2 separate regions of the Homo sapiens genome follow, and region 2 is linked to region 1. Evidence: promoter capture Hi-C in human tissues and cell types (Jung and others, 2019). All regions are on one chromosome and are shown on one strand. Each heading gives the region's core, a stretch centred on a gene start or on the middle of the fragment in contact. The rest is flanking DNA. Distances are from core to core; before and after follow the strand shown. Region 1 holds the start of C11orf24 (chromosome 11 open reading frame 24). Region 2 overlaps TPCN2 (two pore segment channel 2).

Region 1 (3,954 bases), core at 409-2,908:
CACACGCCACCACGCCTGGCTAATTTTTATATTTTTAGTAGAGACGGGTTTCACCATATCGGTCAGGCTGGTCTCAAACTCCTGACCTCAGGTGATCCGCCCGCCTTGGCCTCCCAAAATGTTGGGATTACAGGCGTGAGCCACCGCGCCCAGCCCAGTCATTGATTTTTGAAAAGGGCAGGCAAAGAACTAAAATCTGCCTGCCGATTGTATATTTTCACTTCTGGAGTGAGCCTCAATACTGTACTTCATGTTAGATCCGAACTAGTTGGAAAAATTAAAGCAAATACATAGTGAAAGGATCTGATCTTCACATGATCCAACCGGCGTTGGGTCTCAGCAAACCCAACTTTGCAGGTTAAATTCCACACATGAACTGTGGTTGAACTGGGGATGGTGGTGGTGACATCAAATCGCATTTCAGGTGCTCCCAGAGCTCGGAGTGGATGGTAGATCCTGTCTTTGCCCAATCTCAGCTTTCTGTGTCTCTTAGCTTCCTAGCCGAAGACCCCAAGGCAGGTTATAAAACTGGAAATAAAGTCTTGGTTTGCTCCTGTGAAATCATCCTTCGCAGACAGGTTTTGGTTTGGACCGGGGGATGCCTGAGGGTCTTATACAGACTGGGATTCAGTCACAGAACTACTAACTTGCAAAGCCTATTTCTTTCTTTCTTTTTTTTTTTTGGAGACAGAGTCTCGCTCTGTCGCCCAGGCTGGAGTGCAGTGGCACGATCTCTGCTCACTTCAACCTCCACCTCCCAGGTTCAAGCAATTCTCCTGCCTCAGCCTCCCGAGTAGCTGGGACTACAGGCGCACGCCACCACGCCCGGCTAATTTTTTGTATTTTAGTAGACACAGGGTTTCACCATGTTGCCCAGGCTGGTCTCGAACTCCTGAGCTCAGATAATCCGCCCGTCTCGGCCTCCCAAAGTGCTAGGATTACAGGCAAGAGCCACCGCGCCTGGCCTGCAAAGCCTATTTCTAACCAAAGTCAAGTCCCACACACTTGCCTCTAAATTGCGTTTTGCTCCTTTGTTATCCCAGGTTTTACAATTACAGAGCACTTGATGAGCCTGTTTCCACGTCTGTAAAATGAGGCGAAGTTCTTCACTGTGCTATTGCAGAATTAAGCCACTGGCTCTATAGGCAAAGTGCTTAGCACGGGCGTGGCACGCTGCGGGTGCACAGAAACGCTCGCTGCCACCCCACCCTTAACTACCGGGCACCCCAGCGCCCCGCCAGGGGCTGAAGAAACGTGGGAGGAAGCGGAGGAACGCGAAGGGCGTGTGCCCGCGAAAGGTCTCACGAGGCGTTTCGAGGTCGCCTCTTCAGGCTCGGCTGCCGACAAGGTGCCTCTGAGCTCACCCAGCCCAACCCGCGCACCCCGGGACCCCAAGACGGCAGCGGGCACAGCTGGGCAGCAGAGACCCGGGAACACCCACTTCCGCCACAGACCTGCTCAAAATAGCTCCTTCTGGCAGCGCGCAAGAAGTGGCCCGAGCCGGCCCCGGGGAGGCGGGGCCTGAGAGCAGACAACCCCCCCACTTCCGGCTCGCCTCCGTTCGCCACAGGCCCCGCCGCAGCCGCTCTTCGCCCCGGCCAGCAGGCCCGCCCCGCCCTCCGTGACGTCATTTCCGGCGTTTGGGCGGGGCCCGGGCAGGGCGCGCTGCCCGGAGCTGCCTGGGTTGCGCTGCCGGCCACGTCCCCGCGCCGGGCCTCAGGCTCCTTCCTACTGTCCGAGGGCCACCAGGCCGCCGGGGGCCTGCTGCGCCCGGGTAAGGGGCTCGCACTGCCGTCCGGGTAGCTGCTGTCAGGGCTCCCTGACTGGCTTGGGACTGAGAGACAGAGGTTGGGGGGCAGGAGGAGGGTTGGATGGGGGCACGAGGGGCAGTGGGAGAGTGAGTGGGGCTGAGAGAGGCAGGAGGAACGGGACAGGAGGAGCGGCGGATGGGGCACGCACAGAGTGCAAGACGCTGAGCAATGCAGGTACTGAAGAAGTCAACTGGGGGCCGAGCATGGCTGGGGGCCCAAGAGACAGGAGGAGGGAGGAGGGCCGAAGGGGGCCCAGACTGGAGAAGAGGCCGGCTTGTCCCATTGTGGGAGCAGAATGGGGACACTCTGGAAGGGGGCCGAATTTGTCCTGGGGTCTTTCCCGGGCAAGCCCAGGACGGGACTGGACCCCAAGAAGTGTCGCTCTTACTTGAGTGACACAGACCTATCCCCCAGACCCTCTCTCTACCTGGGTGGAGGTTGTGCATTGCCCCAGATTCCCTCCCCTGCCCATCTGTCTCCCTGCCTGCTTCCCCCGTGCGAGTCACTTAGTAGCCCCCGTGTGGCTGCTTAGCATGTTGACTTAATCGTTAGGCTGATAGGAGGAATCGGCCTCCACACGCATGGTTTGCCACCAGAAATAATCATCGTGCTTAGAAATCTGACTGTAATAACTTGCAGCTATCCCTCGCCCCAGGAAAATCTCTAACATTTCGATAAAATCAGCTAGGAAAATCTTTAAAATACAGATGTTTCCATTTATACAGTGGATCTGCCTAATGGACAAAGGAATGTCAGAGCTACCCACGTTCTTAGCAAAAACTAGGCCCTAGTATTTAGCTGTGTTACCAAAACTTCCAGAAACCTGGAAGCAAGCAAGGTAGTTAATGTAATATAATAAATGTCCAATGTTCTAGGTTCCCGTCTGCCACAGAGTCACATCCTTTGGACTACAGGACAATGTCTATATACACAAAGCCATAAGTCTGTGTTCCTTGGGCTTCTGCTACCAAAGTTCAGCCAGGTGACGTGTCAGGATTAGGTACCTGCAGTTTGCCCTGTATTTGTGTTTGCAGTTCCTACTCCTTGGTATCTGTAGCTTGCCTAACTTGGTGTGGGGGCCTGGCCATGTTGCGGCTGAGTGAGTCTTAATAGCCTGATAGAATGTGGGGGTAACAGCTGTAGTCCTTTACCAAGCTTCAGGATTGGTCTTTGGAACCTCTCTATGCCAGAAAAAAAGAATTAAGTTATTTCTTTCCCTTTTTTTTTTTTTTTAAGAGATGGGGTCTCACTATGTTGCCCAGGCTGAACTCAAACTTCTGGGCTTGTAATCCTCCCACCTCAGCCTCCTGAGTGTCTGGGATTACAGGCATGCAGCACCACGCCTGGAGTCCAGTTTTGTGTAACTTGCATAAAGTGCGCCACATATAACAAGCCAAGGTTCGGAACACAAGAATTCAGACAAGATGCCTTGGGAGGCATCTCGAGGTCATGAACCAGAAAAGGATAGGGAGGTTGACACCCAGGGGCATAGTTGGGGGTGCCTTTGTCATGGAGTGTCACATGGCTCAAGGGAGTATCCTGTTGCACCTTCCTTGCAGATCCTATGGGGAGCTGACCCCTGAAGAAGGGAGCTCCCAGTGCCAGCCTAACCTTCCGTCTTTCCATCTGCCCTGGTCTCCAACTTAATACAAACTTAATTCTCTCTCGCTCATTCCCCTCCTGCCCCTGGGGTCTCTTTTTTCCCATCTATTATGGTCTGAGACCCTGATCTACCCAGTCTCCCTGTACCACATAATAATGAGAATAACTGGTGGGGTCCCGAGACCCACATCCTAATTTTGGCTTGAAGCCTTTGCAGGGGAAACTGTTATTTTAAATGTTGTTAATGGTTTGTCCATCATGAGTCAACTTACATAGATGACCACAGGTTCCCGCATGGGATCTTGACATTTAGAATATTCTGTTGGAAAGTGGAGGCAGGACCATAGCAGAGGGATGAAGTCATAGGACAATGAAGGCCTGTTCTCGACTACACAGTGGCCAATTCCTGTTTCTGTGGGAGTGACCACCAGCCCCACCGGCTGGGAGGGAGTAAGTGGTGATGGTATCCAGCAGAAGTTTCCTGAGAAACCCGTGGAGTGTCCTGATATAGCCTTGTGGACCTGCTCCGTGTGTGTGCCCT
Region 2 (3,954 bases), core at 819-3,318, 780 kb before region 1:
ACCCACCCGGGACCTAGAATGGGGTGGTCCACAACAGGCCTCAGAACACGGTGCATCAAAGCAGCAAATGCGTCCAGGATGCAGAAGACAAGTCCTCCGGGGACTGACGAAGAGCCGTGCCCAGAGGCTCCACCCTCAGTTCTCTTAACCTACAGTCCAGCAATGGAGGCCTTGGACCCAGTCAGTCGCCCCTGGAGGGGCGAGCCAATCGGAGGGCGGCCACCCCCCAGGCCCGGCCACAGGGAGCAGGTGCCACCGACCTGAATAGCATCTTCGATGAAGACCACAGCCTGATCAATGCAGAGGTCCCACCTGGCCGCGGCACCTGCAGGCAGAGGGGACACATCAGGTGACCGAGCAGGATGACATGGCCTCACCCTCCAGGATACCCGTGATCAAGGAAAGATGCCGGCTGTGGTTCTTCCCAAGGCCGTTTGTAAAGAGATGACTCCACCCGGCAGTGGGGCTGCATGTACCTGCCCAGGGCAGGGACCAAACCAGGTAAGTGCCTCGGCATCAAATGCACAGGCCAGGCCCAGGGCACGGCACCTCCGCATGCAGCGCACACAACTAGCAAGCCTGTGGGAAGCGGCACATCCTGCAGGGCCCTGGCACCAGCGTCGGGGTTCAGAGCCCGGCTCCTCCACGTGCTGGCAGGAAGGCTGTGGCTGGCTCCTCCTCTGTCAAGTGGGGCTATTTACAGCCACCCAATCGGCTCCCCAGAGGGTACTGTGAGGTGCAACGCAGGAGCACAAGAGCCCCCTGCCACGCTCCCCAGGCATGCTCGGTACATGGGGCTGCTGTCACCCCTCTTCCGCTCGGCCCTACCTGGCTCCTGCACAGTCTTCATGAGCCAGGACACTGTACCCAGTGTCCCACCCACCCCCATCAAACCAGACCTCGGATTCAACAGTGACAGGGAGAACTGGCATCTAGAACCCAAAGGCACTGCCATGAGGCTTCATGAGTGCTACCAAGGTCCCATTCCCTCACTGTCCCGGTCCATGGGCCCAGGCAAGCCCACCCAAATCACTCCCAGGGTCAGAGCTGCAGGAACGCCCGAGTCCCCCAGCCTCTGCCGGTGCCTTCTGTGGTGAAGGGTGGCCGCCCGCCTTTACCAACAGCACAAGCAGGGTGGAGCCTCCCGGCAGGCCTGGGCAAAAGCGGCAGTGGCTCCTGACTAGGAGGGGCCTTCAGGAAAAGTCAGGCGGCACAGAAGCCAGGACCCAGCACCCTGGCCTGCTCACAAGCCCCTCACCTGCCACAGAGCAGCCAGCGGGCGCACCTGGTCAGCCACTGAGCCACTGCAGGGAGCCTGGGCCACCCACCCGCATCGTAGGCACGGGCCACCTCTGGCCTCGCTGCAGAGCTGCTCCCCAGCAGGCCAACAGGGAAGGAAAACTCAACCCGAAGCAACTGAGGAGCCCGGAGAGGCTGACACTTCCCAGCACGGGGAGAGGGTGAAGCAGCTGCTTTTTCAGTTGAGACTCGGCTTTCACACCTGGCCCCTTGGGGCCCACAGCTGCACCAAGACAATGTGGTGACATGGGAGGCAGCAGCAGAGGCCTCAGGAGGTGCTGGTCCCCAGGCAGAGCTCCAGGCCATGACCCGCCCACGCCACTGGCCATCCTTAGGGAGGCAGCTGCCCCTGTCCTCGGGGCTCCTGCTTGGGGGCATGAGGTATAGGCAGCTGGGCCCTGGACGGATTAGAGGTGTGAGGGGCCCCAGACAGAGGCAGGAGACCGGACCCCACCCTCACTCTGCCCGGCCCTGCTGCACTGCCGGGAGCAAGAGCCTTCCCTCCCTGTGGCTTTGGTGCCCACATGCACAGCCACGAGACCCACCCTGAGGACACCCGAATGTCTCCCCAGGGAAGCTCTGAAAGTGGCTACTGTTTATGTCCCCTGAGCACATCCTGGGATCGCTATGAACAGAAGCCACACTGTTTTGTTCCCTGCTGTATCTGCAGAGCCCAGAAGTCAAGCACACAGGACTCAAAGCTGATATATCCCATGAATAAATGAACAGCCCTGAGGGGAGCCTGGGGGGCCGGTGATCTGAGAGGCCCCACCTTACCAGATTCCCTGGGAGAAGACAAAATCTCTACCAGGAGAGATCTAGTGATACAAGCTTCTTAGACAAGAGACAAGCGGCCGAGTTCCGGGCCTCACTCCAGCCCCAGGACCACGGAAAGTACTCACATCCACCCAGGCCAGCCATCCCAGGCCAACAGTGGTGGGCACCCCTGGAACCATCCAGCACTCGTGGTTCCCTTTCGCCTGGCTTTTTGGTTGCTGGTTTGTAAAATTCTGGGTCTGGCCATCCTCCGTTTCACCCTGCAACAGCCCAAGGATCTCGTTCCAAACACTCAGAAGCACATCGCAGCTTCCCCTGGGCCCCCACTATTCCAGGCCCACACTCCACCCTGGTCTGGCACTGCAGGTTCCCACATTTGCCGGCCCGCCTCTCTCCTGCCTTTCAACCCTCAGTGCCACTCATTCCGAACTGGGCTCTGCCAAGGCCATGCTCTCCAAAGCCTCCAACCCTTTACTCAGGCTGCTGCTTCTGCCAGGAGCACCATCCCCCAATTTGTGAGTCCAGGGACTCCCTTGGGACAGCTCGCCCCGCCCTGAGCTCATCACCCTGGGGGACAATCACCTTTCCACACACCATCACCCACTGGGGCTGAAGGGTTCTGCAAGGCACAGAGGACAGCAGGGGCTGAGATGCTGCATCCGGCACACCAGGCCTCGACACGGCTTCCTAATCCAAGCCTCTGCCCCGCAACATCCAGGTCTGAGCTCCCGCTCCCCTGTTGCTCCAGGCTCCAGGCTGCACAACCTGTGTAGGGTCCTGACCATCATCCTCTGTGACCCTGGGCAAGTCCCTTAACCTCTAGGTGCTCCAGGTCCTCATGGACCCCCACCCAATAGGAGCTAAGTACAGACTGAATGACTTACTATAGCCAGAGTACTTTGCTAAGTGAGCCCTTCATAAGCATTCAGTTACTCTGAAAGCCTCTACAGCATCGCAATCCCTTGTCCTCTGACTTGTTTGATAACCAGTAAAAGTGTGATTTTTCTGACCCAGCAACAAGAGAAAACAACTGTTCTCAACCTTTGACCCCGGCCCCATCAGGTGGGGCCAAGTCAAAACGACCCAACAGCAGGGTCCACTGGGGTCCTTGGGGCACCCACAGCAGCAGCCCTCACCACAACCCGTTGGCAAGAGACCAACCACAGGACTTGCAAACCAGAGCACAGGGCCTTCATTTCAAAGCCTGGCACAGGCCTCAGCACAGAGACTGAATGAGCCTTTCGGAGTCTCCATGGCTCCATAGTCTGCCAGTCCTTGCTGGGGACCCTGGCCAAGGGGATTCAGAACACAGAGCGTCCTGTCCACGTTCTCAGAAGCCCTGGCTGAGGCCACAGCATAGGGACAAAGAGCGCTCCCCGAGAGCCTCCTCTTGTCAGCCACACTGCCCAGCAGAGCGGGTCTCACCTGCCAGGGAGGACCTGCAATGATCACAGAGCTTACCCAGGACGGCCACTGGCCCCCACACCAGCCCGCCGGGCCCTGTGCTGAGGACAAACTCTGGATTCTCTCTGAATCCTCACAATGCCCGCCAGGCAGTCCTTAGTATTATCTCCCTTTTACTGAGATTCGGAAAGGTGAAGCATGGCCAGGCACAGTGGCTCACGCCTGTAATCCCACCACTTTGGGAGGCCGAGGCAGGCAGATCACCCGAGGTCAGGAGTTTGAGACCACCCTGGCCAACACAGTGAAACCCCATCTCTACTAAAAATACAAAAATTAGCCAAGTGTGGTGGCGGGCGCCTGCAGTCCCAGCTACTTGGGAGGCTGAGGCGGGAGAATCGCTTCAACCCAGCAGAGGTAGAGGCTGCAGTGAGCCGAGATCACGCCACTGCACTCCAGCCTGGGTGACAGAGTGAT

Evidence for each region. Contacts are between HindIII fragments. The study calls those that stand out against the background at their distance.
Region 2: a contact is called between a fragment that was not itself captured here and the fragment with the promoter of C11orf24 in region 1, in 1 of the 25 tissues and cell types used here (aorta).

What each region holds. Positions count from the first base shown.
Region 1 is chr11:68,269,677-68,273,630 of GRCh38, reverse strand. C11orf24 (chromosome 11 open reading frame 24) reads left to right here and starts at 1,658. Exons shown (of 4, transcript NM_022338.4): 1 at 1,658-1,774. It overlaps LOC105369363 (a long non-coding RNA gene), which reads right to left and starts at 1,529. Exons shown (of 3, transcript XR_950248.3): 1 at 1,455-1,529. RefSeq lists an enhancer at 695-1,549 and a silencer at 1,461-1,860. The HindIII fragment of the contact is 13,528 bases long and covers 1-3,954 here.
Region 2 is chr11:69,050,404-69,054,357 of GRCh38, reverse strand. TPCN2 (two pore segment channel 2) reads right to left here. Exons shown (of 25, transcript NM_139075.4): 2 at 261-325. Among named protein-coding and RNA genes, the nearest start is that of TPCN2, 3.4 kb to the right of the region's middle. RefSeq lists enhancers at 1-49, 724-1,297, 2,448-3,022. The HindIII fragment of the contact is 3,678 bases long and covers 230-3,907 here.